2 separate regions of the Homo sapiens genome follow, and region 1 is linked to region 2. Evidence: promoter capture Hi-C in 16 types of primary human blood cells and fetal thymus (Javierre and others, 2016). All regions are on one chromosome and are shown on one strand. The core of a region is centred on a gene start or on the middle of the fragment in contact, and the rest is flanking DNA. Distances in the headings are between cores, read along the strand shown.

The links. Contacts are between HindIII fragments. The CHiCAGO score rates a contact against its expected background, and 5 or more counts as called.
Region 1: a contact is called between the fragment with the promoter of TBC1D13 here and the fragment with the promoter of SPOUT1 in region 2, in 6 of 17 cell types (endothelial precursors, naive CD8 T cells, neutrophils and 3 more). The highest score is 8.7, in endothelial precursors.

The regions. Positions count from the first base shown.
Region 1 is chr9:128,782,348-128,788,837 of GRCh38, forward strand. TBC1D13 (TBC1 domain family member 13) reads left to right here and starts at 4,906. Exons shown (of 12, transcript NM_018201.5): 1 at 4,906-5,029; 2 at 5,987-6,060. The coding sequence starts at 5,007. RefSeq lists an enhancer at 1,203-1,497, a cis regulatory region at 1,207-1,541 and a silencer at 4,554-5,043. The HindIII fragment of the contact is 6,792 bases long and covers 1-6,297 here.
Region 2 is chr9:128,828,332-128,835,791 of GRCh38, forward strand. It overlaps SPOUT1 (SPOUT domain containing methyltransferase 1), which reads right to left and starts at 1,463. Exons shown (of 12, transcript NM_016390.4): 1 at 1,414-1,463; 2 at 779-824; 3 at 404-529. The coding sequence starts at 1,449. KYAT1-SPOUT1 (KYAT1-SPOUT1 readthrough) reads right to left here. Exons shown (of 25, transcript NR_182311.1): 9 at 7,448-7,460; 10 at 7,150-7,336; 11 at 6,992-7,071; 12 at 5,409-5,495; 13 at 4,896-5,312; 14 at 1,414-1,674; 15 at 779-824; 16 at 404-529. KYAT1 (kynurenine aminotransferase 1) reads right to left here. Exons shown (of 13, transcript NM_004059.5): 9 at 7,448-7,460; 10 at 7,150-7,336; 11 at 6,992-7,071; 12 at 5,409-5,495; 13 at 4,611-5,312. The coding sequence ends at 5,253. RefSeq lists enhancers at 1-857, 1,655-1,714 and silencers at 1,195-1,374, 2,191-2,414. The HindIII fragment of the contact is 15,703 bases long and covers 1-7,460 here.

The DNA of each region.
Region 1 (6,490 bases), core at 3,656-6,155, 43 kb before region 2:
ATTGTTTGTTTGTTTTTGAGACAGCGTTTTGCTCTGTTACGCCAGCTGGAGTGCAGTGGTGTGAGCACAGCTCACTGCAGCCTCAAACACCTAGGTTCAAGCAATTCTCCTGCCTCAACCTCCCAAGTAGCTAGGATTACAGGTGCGTGCCACCATGCCCTGCTAATTATTTTTGTTAAATTTTTGTAGGCCGGGTGTGGAGCTCACTCCTGTAATCCCAGCTCTTTAGGAGGCTGAGGCAGGGGGATTGCTTGAGCTCAGGAGTTCGAAATCAGCCTGAGCAAGGTGGCAAAACCCTGTCTCTACAAAAAATACAAAAAATTAGCCAGGCATGGTGCCACAGGTATGTGCTCCCAGCTACTTGGGAGGTTGAGGCAGAGGATCTCTTGAGCCCAGAAGGTTGAGGCTGCAGTGAGCCAAGATCCCGCCACTGTACTCAGCCTGGGTGGCAGAGTGAGACTGTGTCTCAAAAAAAAATTTTTTTTTTTAAAGATGGGGTCTTGCTATATTGCACAGGCTAGTCTTGAACTCTTGACCTCAAGTGGTCCTCCTGCCTTGGCCTCCCAAAGTGCTGGGATTACAGATCATCTTGCTCAGCCTATTTCCAAAATTTTTCATTACCCCAAATAGAAACTGTAACCATTAAGCAATAACTCCCCATTCTCTATCTCTGTAGTCCCTGGTGACATCTAATCCACTTTTATTTTTTTATAAATTTGCATATCCTAGCTACCTTATACAAGTACAATCATACAGTGTTTGTCCTTTTGTGACTGGCTGTGATACTTAGCATAATGTCTTCACGGTTCATCATGTTGTAGCATGTAAAAAAGCCATGATATGTATATACAACATTTTGTTTATCCATTCATCTGTTGATCGTTACATGAAGTGTGTCCACGTTTTGGCTATTGGGAATAGTGCTGCAATTGGCATACAACTATCTGTTCCTGCTTTCTCTCTCTCTCTCTCTCTCTCTCTTTTTTTTTTTTCTCACTCTGTCACCCAGGCTGGAGTGCAGTGGATTGATCATCATGGCTCACTGCAGCCTCCAACCTCCCAGGCTCAAGTGATCCTCCCACCTTAGCCTCCTGAGTAGCTGGGACACCAGGTGTGTGCCACCATGCCTGGATAAATTTTAAGATTTTTTACAGAGACGGGGGTCTCATTATGTTGCCCAGGCTGGTCTGGAATTCCTGCCTCAAGCAATCCTCCTGCCTTGGCCTCCCAGAGTGCTGCGATTACAAGCAAGAGCCACTGCACCTGGCCCTGTCCATGCTTTCAATGCCTAGGAATGGAAGTGCTGAGTCATAGGGTAATTCTATGTTTAGCTTTTTGAGGAACTGTCATACTATTTTCCATAGCAGCTGCACCATTTTACATTCCCTCCAGCACATGTGTGGGTTCCTATCTCTCCACATCCTTGTCAGCAATTATAACTGTCTCTTTTTTTTTTTTTTTCTTTTTTTTTTAAGACAGGGTCTCACTCTGTTGCCTAGCCTGGAGTGCAGTGGCATGATCTCGGCTCACTGCAATCTCTGCACTCCAGCCTGGGGACAGAACAAGACCTCATCCTGGGGAGGGGGGGAAAAATGTGGTGGTGGGGATTTAAAAATGTACAATAGGCCAGGCGTGGAGCCTTAAGCCTGTAATCTCTGCACTTTGGGAGGCCGAGGACAACAGATCACGAGGTCAGGAGATCAAGACCATCCTGGCTAACATCGTGAAACCCCGTCTGTACTAAAAATACAAAAACTAGCCGGGTGTGGTAGCAGGCACCTGTAATCCCAGCTACTTAGGAGGCTGAGGCAGGAGAAGCACTTTAACCCGGGAGGCGGAGGTTGCAGTGAGCCGAGATTGCGCCACTGCACTCTAGCCTGGTGACAGAGTAAGACTCCGTATCAAAAAAAAAAAAAAAAAAAGTACAATAGGCTTGGCATGGTGATGCACGCCTGTAATCCCAACACTTTGGGAGCCCGAGGTGGGTAGATCACCTGATGTCAGGAGTTCGAGACCAGCCTGGCCAACATGGTGAAACCCCGTCTCTGCTAAAATACAAAAATTAGCCAGGTGTGGTGGTGGGCGCCTGTAATCTCAGCTACTTGGGAGGCTGAGGCAGGATAATTGCTGGAGGCAGAGGTTGCTGTGAGCCAAGATTGCGCCATTGCACTCCAGCCCAGCCAAGAACAGAGAGACTGTCTCAAAAAAAAAAAAAAAAAAAAAGTACAATAAAGAACGGGCAATAGGGACAGGCATGGTGGCTCATGACTGTCATCTCAGCACTTTGGGAGGCAAAGGTGGGCAGATCGCCTGAGGTCAGGAGTTCAAGACCAGCCTGGCCAACATGGAGAAACCCGTCTCTACTAAAACTACAAAAATTAGCCAGGCATACTGGCGCGCGCCTATAATCCCAGCTACTTGGGAGGCTGAGGTAGGAGAATTGCTTGAACTCAGGAGGCGGAGGTTGTGGTGAGTGGAGATTGCACCACTGCACTCCAGCCTGGGCAACAGAGCCAGACTCCATCTCAAAAAAAAAAAAAAATTAGAAGGCCAGGTGCTGCCAGGCATGGTATCTCACGCCTGTAATCCCAGGATTTTGGGAGGCCGAGGAGGGAGAATAACCTGAGGTCAGGAGTTTGAGGCCAGCCTGGCCAACATGATGAAAACCCGTCTCTACTAAAAATACAAAATTTTTTTTAAATCAAAAAATATAAAAATTAGCCAGGCAGGGTGGCATGAACCTTTAATCCTAGCTACTCGGGAGGCTGAGGCAGAAGAATCGCTTGAACCCGGGAGGCAGAGGTTGCCGTGAGCTGGAGATCACCCCATTGCACTCCAGCCTCGGCAACAAGAGTGAGATTCCGTCTCAAGAAAAAAAAAAAAGAAGGCCAGGCATGGTAGCTCATGCCTGTAATCCCAGCACTTTGGGAGGCCTGAGGTGGGCAGACACTTGAGGTCAGGAGTTTGAGACCAGCCTGGCCAACATGATGAAACCCTATCTCTACCTCAAAATACAAAAATCAGCTGGGCATGGTGGCATGCGCCTGTAGTCCCAGCTACTCAGTAGGCAGAGGTTGCAGTGAACTGAGATTGCGCCACTGCACTCCAGCCTGGGGTGACAGAGTGAGACCATGTCTCAAAAAAAAGAAAGAAGAGTATATATGCATAGCAAACGTGTGAAGAGATGCTCAACATCATATGTCTTTAGGGAAATGCATGTTAAAGCAGGAGATACCACTTCACATCTACTAGAATGTCTAAGATTAAAAAGACTGACCACATCAAGTATTGGTGAGGACGTGGTACAACAGCAACTCTCATATACTGCTGGGGTAGGTGTTAAATAATACAACCATTTTGGAAAATATTTAAGCACTTTCTTTTCTTTTTCTTTTTCTTTTTTTTTTTTTGAGATAGAGTGTCGCTCTTTCGCCCAGGCTGGAGTGCAGTCGTGCAATCTCCACTCACTGCAAGCTCTGCCTCCCAGGTTCATGCCATTCTCCTGCCTCAGCCTCCCGAGTAGCTGGGACTACAGGCACCCACCACCACGCCCGGCTAATTTTTTTCTTTGTATTTTTTAGTAGAGATGGGGTTTCACCGTGTTAGACAGGATGGTCTCGATCTCCTGACCTCATGATCCGCCCTCCTTGGCCTCCCAAAGTGCTGGGATTACAGGCGTGAGCCACCGCGCCTGGCTAGCTGTTTCTTTCTTTTTTTTTTTTTCTCAAGAAAAAGGTGTTAAATAATACAACCATTTCGGAAAATCTTTAAGCAGTTTCTTTTCTTTTCTTTTCTTTTTTTTTTTTTTTTGACAGGGTCTTGCGTTTTTGCCCAGGTTGGAGTGCGGTGGCGCTATTGGAGTGCGGTGGCACTATCTCGGCTCACTGCAAGCTCCGCCTCCCGGGTTCAAGCAATTCTCCTGCCTCAGCTTCCTGAGTAGCTGGGATTACAGTTGTGCGTCACCACACCCGGCTAATTTTTGTATTTTTAGTAGAGACGAGGTTTCACCATGTTGGTTAGGCTGTTCTCAAATTCCTGACCTGGTGATCTGCCCGCTTCAGCCTCCCAAAGTGCTGGGATTACAGGCGTGAGCCACCACGCCCGGCCTACTCAACTAATTTTTACATCTTTTGTAAAGAAGGTAATCTCGAGGAGCTGGGATTACAGGCGCCTGCCACCACGCCCGGCTAATTTTTGCATTTTTGGTAGAGACGGGGTTTCACCGTGTTGGCCAGAGTGGTCTCCAACTCCTGACCTCAAGTGGTCTGCCTGCCTCGTCCTCCCAAAGCACTGGAATTTACAGGGATGAGCCACCGCGCCCGGTCCAGCCTATTTTTCTTAAGATATCATTTGTGTTTTTTTCTTTCTTCCTAACTTACATTTTATAGGGTTTGCTGGTATAGTTTTTATAAAAAAAAAAAAAGTTGGGCCGCGCACGGCGGTTCATGCGAGTCCCTGCTATACAGGCCTTGAGGATTCTGCAGAGACCAAGATAAGCTGGGGGGCCTGAACAGTTTAGCAGGGGAGGCCGAGACTCCTGTAACAATCATGCAGTAGTTAATTACAGGGGGGTGAGTGCAGGGAAGACGACAGGGTGACAGGTATATTGCGTAAGTAGACACTGAGGCCCAGGGAAGCGCAAGGAATAGTCCAGAGACACACAGTCTGCGCTGTCACCGGCGGGTTCTCAAATTTGGCCCGCAGGGTCGGCGGCGCTGGGGCTCCCGGCCCGCGATTGCCACGCCCACCAGACCCGAGGTTGCCCCGCTCAACCCGGCCGGCCGTAGCCGCCAGTACCGTGTGGAAGCGTGAGAGTCGAGGGGTGGCACGTGACTGGCGGGGCGGGGCGGGGCTGAGGCGGTGGAACGCGCAGGCTAGTGGCTGTGTTTCCCGCCGGAGGCTTTTGCGCAGAGCCCCGCGTCCCTGGGGGGCGGCGGCGGCGGCGGCAGCGCAGGCGGCAGAGGCGCAGGCGGCGGAGGCGGCTGGGGGGTCCGGAAGTCAACACCATGTCAAGTCTGCACAAGAGCCGGTAAGGGGCCATGGGGCCTGACCCGGCTGGGCCACTCCTGGCCAGGCTGCCCCTTCTGCCCCTCAGAAGGGGGAAGCGCGGGTGTGGCCAGGAATCGGCAGACCCCCTCGGCAGAGGGTCTCGAGCGTCCACCTTCTAACCTCATTGCCTGTGGGCTGCAGGAACGACGGAGGGGCGGCCCTTCTCCTGCCCCTGATGTCACTGCTTCTGCCTCCCTCATCCTGGACCCCTGGTGTCCCCCTTCCCCTGAGTCTTCCTCATCCAGACCCCCATGCCCCGCCCCCGTGCCTTTCCCCCTTTTGATCCCCCTGCTCCCGTACTCTCTCCAAGTGCACCCTGTCCCCCGTGCCTTTTTCTTACTAGGATTGCTAGAGAACTTGCATTCTCCAGTCTGGCCCCTCCCCCAGGCCAGATCCTGCAGCATTGGCTGAATTTTGCTCACTCTTCAGTTTTCCTTCAGGACGTGTTTTTTAAACCCTTTGTCCTTGCCTTCTGGCAGGCCCAGAGGTCTTGTAATGGTTATATTTGTGAGCATGGTCCATTGTCTGCATATCAAATTACTCCTGGTTCCTGAGGTCCAAGGAGTTCAGTTGGTGGCTGTGCGTGGACCCGGCCTGGCCGGCAGGAAGTGCCCAGTAAATGTCAGCTCACTAAGTATTAGAATGTTGGAATATGTCTAATTTTATGGTCCTCATTTGGGAACTTCTAGACAAGAATATCTCTCAAGTTTCTTCCCTGGCATTCTGTGTTTCTGGTTGTAGAGGAAGAAGTGAAATATAGTTTTGTTGTTCTCCAAAGCTGTCTTTGGTGAGGACCTTGACTAAGCTGTGTGATTTTTATGTCCTAAAGGGGAGAGAGGCACAGGTTGGAAACTGGCAGTGTGAGGGAGCTGAGGGCTGTGGGTCTCACTGAGCCGATATCAGCATGCTTCATTTGCCGCCCTATCTCCCCTTCCAGAATTGCAGATTTCCAGGATGTCCTGAAGGAGCCCTCAATTGCATTGGAAAAGCTGCGGGAACTCAGCTTTAGTGGTAAGAAGCCATTCTGTATTTTCACGGTTTCCCTACAGCAGCCCTGTGGCTAGAATACAGGGGGAGGCCACACCTGGTCAGCTCTGGGGCCCAGCTGCTGGGGGCTGGGGCCTTGGAAGGAAATTACACACAGACTCTTGGGGCCTTTTCCAGATTCTGTAGAGCTGAACAGGCAGTGACTGCCTTGAGCTTGGAGGGGTTTCCCAGAGGGGCAGTGGCCACACTTAGCATGCCCTAAGCTTTCCTAAGCTTTCCGCAGGAGGTGCCAGATTCCTGAGAGTAACAGGACAGGACTGAAGCCTGGAGAATGAGAGTTGGGACCTTTTGAGCCCAGGACAGTCTTTCCTCATTCCTTAGCTAGCTTCCTGTGTTGGTGAGTTTGGTTAACTGCAGGGTTGTTCCTTGTTCTCTCCCTGGCTTGGGGTCTAAG
Region 2 (7,460 bases), core at 213-2,712:
CTAAAAATACGAAAATTAGCCAGGTGTGGTGGCACACTTCTGTAATCCCAACTACTCGGGGGGCCGAGGGAGGAAAATTGCTTGAACTTGGGCAGTGGAGGTTGCAGTGAGCAGAGATGGCGCCGTTGCACTCCAGCCTGGGCAACAGAGCAAGACTCCATCTCAAAAAAAAAAAAAAAGAGAGATAAGGCTTGCCTTCCATAGGCTTGAAATTTACCTAAGCAGGAGGTCAGAACTCAGTTTGCTGGCTCCCTCCCTTCTCTGGGCCTCAGTTTCTCCATCAGGACAAGATGTTTGGACCTACTGGTCTGTAAAGGCCCTTTCAGATAAGACATCTCTGCTCTGCCTGCAGGACAACTACCGTGGGCCACAACCTGTGGCCCTCCCCAAGACCCCAGCTCACCGCGGTCCTCCTTCTCTGCCGCTGCCTCCTCCTCTTCCAGGCGCTTTGCCTGTTCCTCCTGTGCCCGCTGCCGCTCCAGTTTTTTCATCAGCTTGAGATCCTTCCATTTTTTTTTCTCCTCTTTCTCTGGATAAAAGAACATCCTAATTGGCCAAGGAGACAGTTCCCACTCATTGGGTCAGCCTGGACTCTGGAGAGCTGCTGGGTGAGCAGCCAGAGGGCAGCAAGGGAGCCTCCCCAGGGCTCCCGGCCCCTGCCTCCCCACTTTGTGTGCTGCAGGACCCAGAGGGAACAAAGTTGGTGTCTTTCTCCAGGGTTTGACTGAGCACTGGTGGAGTGGCCTATGGGAAGATACTCTTACCCACCCTTACTTACTCTGTTGCTTCCATTTTCGCCACTCAATCCTTTGGCCGTGTTCACCCTGGAGAAGGAGTGGTAGGAGGATTATGAGTGTGAGGCTGATGGTCACACCTGGAGGGGGTCCGTTTGCTGCACCATAGCCAGCCCCTCCACACGGGGCGGCAAGGAAGCCAAGGAACCTCTGCGAACTGCTGCCCCAGAAAGCGGCAGGAGGGCAGGGACCCGCTGTATCCCCAGCGCCTGGGACCCAGCCTGGCACACAGAAAGCACTCAAGAAACTGTCGAATGAGTTCCCACAAAACAGAAGAGAAAACTGAGGCTCAGGGTACAGCACTGCCCACAGTCGCCCTGGAAGTCAGAAAAGGGCTCCAGAAGCCACGAAAGGGCTCCGGATTCAGCATCCGGAGGCGAGCAGGGTCCCGCCTCCGTAATCCAGCGGGGGCCAGGGAGCCGCAGGGGGTTCCGGAGAGGACACGGGCGCTGTTCCCATCCTGCTGAGGCTCACGCGGCACCTTCGGGGGCTTCCGGCCTGGGATCAGCGGGAAGCAGGCAGCAGGAGGCGCGGCCCGGCCCCGGCGAAGGCCCCCACGCCACTGGTTCTCACGCCTCCACCATGCTGCCCTGCACGGGGTCCCGCCGCCCGCACTTACCGGGCCGCACGGCCGCTTCCTGCCGCGCTCCGCCATGTTCCGCACACACCGTCGGTCCCGCCTCTGCCAATGAGACTCGCCTCTTCCGGCCACACCTCCATTAAGCTGTCCAATCGGAGAGCCAATATCGCCCAGGGGCGTGGCCTGGGCGCCCGACGGGCTGCAGGGGTACGCGGGCTGGAGTAGGTTGGGCAGAGTAGGTGTCCAAATAGGCGGCATCGCGGGTACTGTGCTGAATTTTGGATGGCTCGGAGCCCCCCTCTGAGTTGGGACAAATACAACACTCAGACCTCTGAGTAGTTCACTTGTTTAAAAATAATTTTTTTTGAGACAGGGTCTCGCTATGTTGCCGAGGCTGGAGTGCAGTGGAGCAATTCTAGCTCACTGCAGGCTTGAGCTCCTGGGCTCAAGGGATCCTCCCACCTTAGCCTCCCGAGTAGCTGGAACCACAGGTGCGCAGCACCACGCCTAGCTCCTGGAAGGCTTTATACATGGGGACCCTGGGGCCTTGAGCTGTAGTGTGATTCAGAGCTGAAAATGAGATAATTTACTCCAGGTTTCTTATAGATTCGTTCACGTACTCTTTCTTTTTTTTGAGACAGAGTCTCGATTCATTGCCCAGGCTGGAGTGCAATGGCGCGATCTCGGCTCACTGCAACCTCCACCTCCTGGGTTCAAGCAATTCTCCTGCCTCAGCCTTTCAAGAAGCTGGGATTACAGGAGCGTGCCACCATGCCCAGCAAATTTTTTTGTGTGTGTTTTTAGTAGAGATGGTGTTGATGTTGGCCCCGTGTTGGCCAGCCTGGTTGAACTCCTGACCATAAGTGATCCTCCAGCCTCGGCCTCCCAAAGGGCTGGGATTACAGGCGTGACCCACTGCACCCGGCCTTTTTTTTTTTTTTTTTTTTTTTTTTTTTTTTTTTTTGAGACAGAGTTTCGCTTTTCTTGCCCAGGCTGGAGTGCAATGGCTCGATCTCAGCTCACAGGAACCTCCAACTCCTGGGTTCAAGCGATTCTCCTGCCTTAGCCTCCCGAGTAGCTGGGATTACAGGCATGCACCACCACGCCTGGCTGATTTTGTATTTTTAGTAGAGATGGAGTTTCTCTATGTTGGTCAGGCTGGTCTCGAACTCTTGACCTCAGGTGATCCGCCCACCTCGGCTTCCCAAAATGCTGGGATTACAGGCATGAGCCACCACGCCCGGCCTCGTTCTCTTTTAATTAACAGACTATATTAGTTGGGACTACAAGTGTGAGCCACCATGCCCGACTAATTTTTTTTTTTCTTTTTGTACAGATAGTGTCTCACTATGTTGCCAGGGCTGGTCTCAGACTCCAGGGTTCAAGCAATCCTCCCAACTTGGCTTCCCAAAGGGCTGAGATTATAGACTTGAGCCATTAATGCCTTTTATTTTTTGAGATCTAGTCTCACTCTGTTGCTCAGGCTGAAGTGCAGTGGCATGATCTCGGCTCACTGCAACCTCTGCCTCCCAGGTTCAAGCAATTCTCCTGCCTCAAGCTCCCAAGTAGCTGGGATTACAGGCGCCTGCCACCAAGCCCGGCTAATTTTTGTATTTTTAGTAGAGACGGGATTCTCCATGTTGGTCAGGTTGGTCTTGAACTCCCGACCTCAGGTGATCCACCCGCCTCGGCCTCCCAAAGTGCTGGAATTACAGGTGTCAGCCACCGTGCCCGGTCTCGAACTTAGATTTTTTTTTTTTTGAGACAGTCTCGCTCTGCTCTGTCGCCCAGGCTAGAGTGCAGTGGCGTGATCTCCGCTCACTGCAAGCTCCGCCTCCTGGGTTCATGCCATTCTCCTGCCTCAGCTTCCCGAGTAGCTGGGACTACAGGTGCCCGCCACTGCACCCGGCTAATTTTTTATATTTTTAGTAGAGACAGGGTTTCACCGTGTTAGCCAGGATGGTCTCGATCTCCTGACCTCGTGATCCACCCGCCTCGGCCTCCCAAAGTGCCGGGATTACAGGTGTGAGCCACCGTGCCTGGTCTCGAACTTAGATCTTATACTAAATTTGTTGTGATTTTTGACAGGTTTATTTTGTAGGCATGACTGATTAAGACATTGGCCATTTGAAAAAACAAACACAAAAATCCCCCCAAAACAACAATAACAAACAGACATGGACCATGTGATTGGGCTCAAAGTCTAGTCCCTCACACCTCCATGGAGGCAGAGATGGAGGGGGCCCGATGGGCTAAAAGTTCTGACCCCGTAATCGTACAGTGCAGAGGGATTCCATGTGACTAACAAGACATGCCTATCTTCCAGAAACTCCAAGGATTTTAGGAATTCTTTACTAAGGACCAGGGGCAAACACCAAATATGTATTTTATTATATGATATATTCCTATCAGCTCCCCCAGTTAAACATATGATATGAGCCAAACCCATGCGCTTGCTATGCAAATGCAACTTCAAGACCAGGCCCCTAACACCACCTTCCAAAGAAATTCAGGAGCTACTATTGCTATCCAGTGAGACTCAATCGGGGCCAGCTAGAAGGCCTGGGCACACCACTTCACCTCACCTCCAGAGTGCTTTCCTCTCTTGTGAACTGGAGATAACTCAGGTCTCAGTCTCAGAGGGTTGTGTAAGATGATGTGCGTCTGAGTGCCTCGCAGGTAGGGCTTGCACGATCAACATTCAGTCCTCCTCCTGAGAATTATTTAAGTCCCTGGTCCTCCTGGCCCCCACTGTGCTGTTCTCTCACCCCTGTGGGAATGTCCATGTCTTCCTTGTCACGAACCCCAATCCTCTCCACACACACACACACACACAAACACATATGACACCCCCACCCCAGCCACCACACCCAGCACCAATAACTGCTACCATCAGATTAATATGAGAGGCCAGCTATGGTGGCTCACGTCTGTAATCCCAGCACTTTGGGAGGCCGAGGCGAGCAGATGACCTGAGGTCAGGAGTTTGAGTCCAGCCCAGCCAACATGGTGAAACCCCATCTCTACAAAAACACAAAAATTAGCCGGGCGTGGTGGCAGGTGCCTGTAGTCCCAGCTACTCAGGAGGCTGAGGCAGGAGAATTGCTTGAACCCAGGAGGTGGAGGTTGCAATGAGCCAAGATCATGCCACTGCACTCCAGCCTGGGGGACAGAGCGAGACTCTGTTTCAAAAACAACAACAACAACAACAACAACAACAACAACAACAACAAAGATTAATAGTGAGGAATTCATTTGAGGGCCTTGGGTGCTAGGCCTGGTTGTGCCACTATGTGACTACAGTAACCATTTGTACAAAGTTGTGGGGGTGTCTGAGGTTCTTCTGGGCATTCTTCACAAGTTAGATCAGCCATCAGCATGAGTGTGAAGCAGAGAGAAGCCGTCAATAAGGATCTTAATAACTTAAACATTTTATTATGGACGAAAAGGAGAGGCTTGAGGACTCAAGCCTAAAGGCAACTCCCCAAGGCCAAGATGAGCCAGGGAAGGTGAGGTTATACCTGAGCCTTAGCAGGGGCCATGCAGAGCTGGGATGTGATCGGTACATGGTGGAAGTCTACCGTCCGTCTCAGCCAAGCCTGGAGAGACCAGAAGCAACACAAGACCCTACAAACCCACCTATGGAGGGGCAGGGAGAGGCCCAGGTCAGGCCACCCTCACCTTTCAGACAGGAGGCACTTGGTTCTCTAAGATGAAGAAGGGCGGCTCCCACCCAGAACATTCTGTGTCACGGAGAAGAGGTTTCCCAATAGCATCTTCCCCAACCTAGAAATGTCTGAAACCTGGACAAAGACAGACACTCAAAGAGGATCTCTGCGGGCATGTGGGGATGTCAGGGCCAAGGCGTGACTTCAGGGCTAGAGTTCCACCTTCCACTTCCGCAGCTTCTCGTCCATGGCCTGGAGCGTGGCTTCATCCTGCGCCAGCACAGATTAGTCCTACACTCTCCCCATGTGCCCAGCCGGCCTTGGGAAGCTCTGTGAGGTCTTTCCTCCCCCAGCCCTGCCCTTTACCTTCACAAAACAGAAGCGGATATAGTGGTCAAAGTGCTTCTGATGTGGCACACTATAGAAGATGGAGACAGGGATGGCCACCAAGCCCTGGGGAGGAGGAAGGACATGTCTCAACACGGCCTCGTGGCCCAGCAGGCCTTGGCTCCGGAGGGGACAGAGAGGTTCCCACGACCAGGCGGGGAAGGAGAGTTAGCTCCAATCCAGCACCTAGAGCTGCATCAAAGTCAGAGGAACAAGGCCAGGTGCGGTGGCTCACGCCTATAATCCCAGCACTTTGGGAGGCTGAGACGGGTGGATCACCTGAGGTCAGGAGTTCAAGACCAGCCTGGCCAACATGGCTAAACCCCGTCTCTACCAAAAATACAAAAATTGGCCGGGTGTGGTGGCGCATGCCTGTAATCCCAGCTACTTGGGAGGCTGAGGCAGGAGAATTGCTTGAACCCGGGGGTGGAGGTTGCAGTGAGCCAGATTGCGCCACTTCACCGCAGCCTGGGCGAAAGAGAGAAAATCCATCCAAAACAAAAACAAACACAAAGTCAGAAGAAAAGAATCCCAGAACATCATTCCAAGTCCCTCCCTGGGTATAGAGGGCAGAGGGAGGCTGACAGAGGGAGGATCATGGAGCAGGTCAGGGCAGAGCCAGAGAAGAACAAAGCCTTAGAGTCACAGATCAAACCTGGATGAACTCAAGAGTTAATGGGCCAACTCCTCACTGTACAGATGGGAAGATGGAGATCCAAAGAGGCAGGAAATCCTGCCAGCCCACACAGCATCTCTGTGCAAGTTAGAAACAGGTTCCTCAGGCCAGGCACGGTGGCTCACGCCTGTAATCCCAGCACTTTGGGAGGCCAAGGGGAGTGGATCATCTGAGGTCAGGAGTTGGAGACTAGCCTGACCAACATGGTGAAACCCCGTCTCTACTAAAAATACAAAAATTAGCCAGGCGTGGTTGTACATGCCTGTAATCCCAGTTACCCAACTACTCAGGAGGCTAAGGGAGGAGAATCGCTTGAACCCTGGAGGTGGAGGTTGCAGTGTGCTGAGATTGCGCCACTGCACTCCCACCTAGGCGACAGAGTGAGACTCTGTCTCAAAAAAAAAAAAAAAAAAAAAAAGGCCAGGAGCAGTGGCTCACGCCTGTAATCCCAGCACTTTGGGAGGCCGAGGCAGGTGGATTACAAGGTCAGGAGATCAAGACCAACCTGGCTAACATGGTGAAACCCCGTCTCTACCAAAAATACAAAAAAAATTAGCCGGGCAAAAAAAAGTAGCCTGTGGTCCCAGCTACTCGGGAGGCTGAGGCAGGAGAATGGCGTGAACCTGGGGGGCAGAGCTTGCAGTGAGCCAAGATCGCGCCACTGCACTCCAGCCTGGGCAAGAGTGAGACTCCATCTCAACCAAAAAAAAAAAAGAAAGAAAAAAAGAAACAGCCTCCTCATTCTCTGAAGTGGATACAACCCTGCCCCAAGGTTGACGGCAGAGGCTGGACTAAGATCTAGCCCAGGAGCCTCTTGCCTGGGCACCCTTGAGCAGCACACAACCTGTGAAACCATACATGGCTGCCTGGCAGAGGCCCAGCCCACCTTGTTCTTGATCATCCACTTGACGAAGCGTCTGTCATAGGGCTCATCCACAGCTCCAGGCAAGTCAGGCATCTTCCTCTCTGGGAGACAGAGGCCACACTGAGCCCCCTGCAGCCTCCAGCCCCTGCGCCCTGCCCAGACCGGCAAGTCTCACTCACTGAAGTCTGAGATGTCTGTGATGAGGAAGTAGCTGCCCTGAGGGATGATGGGCTTCAGGCCCACTGACTGTAGGCTACGTATCATGTGGTCACGGCAGCGCTGCATGGCCTGCGGGAACTGCACAAAGTAGCTGCTGGGTTGGCGGAAGAGCAGCTGCTCCCGTTCAAAGCTCTCGGCTACTGCAGCCTGGGCAGGGCAGATGGACACACAGATAGATCAGCTGTTCCCTGACGCGGGGGCCAGCCTGGGCTCTTTTGTTGTCCCCCCACTCCCCCGTGACGTCCTGCCCCTCTTCACCTGGCTCTGCGTG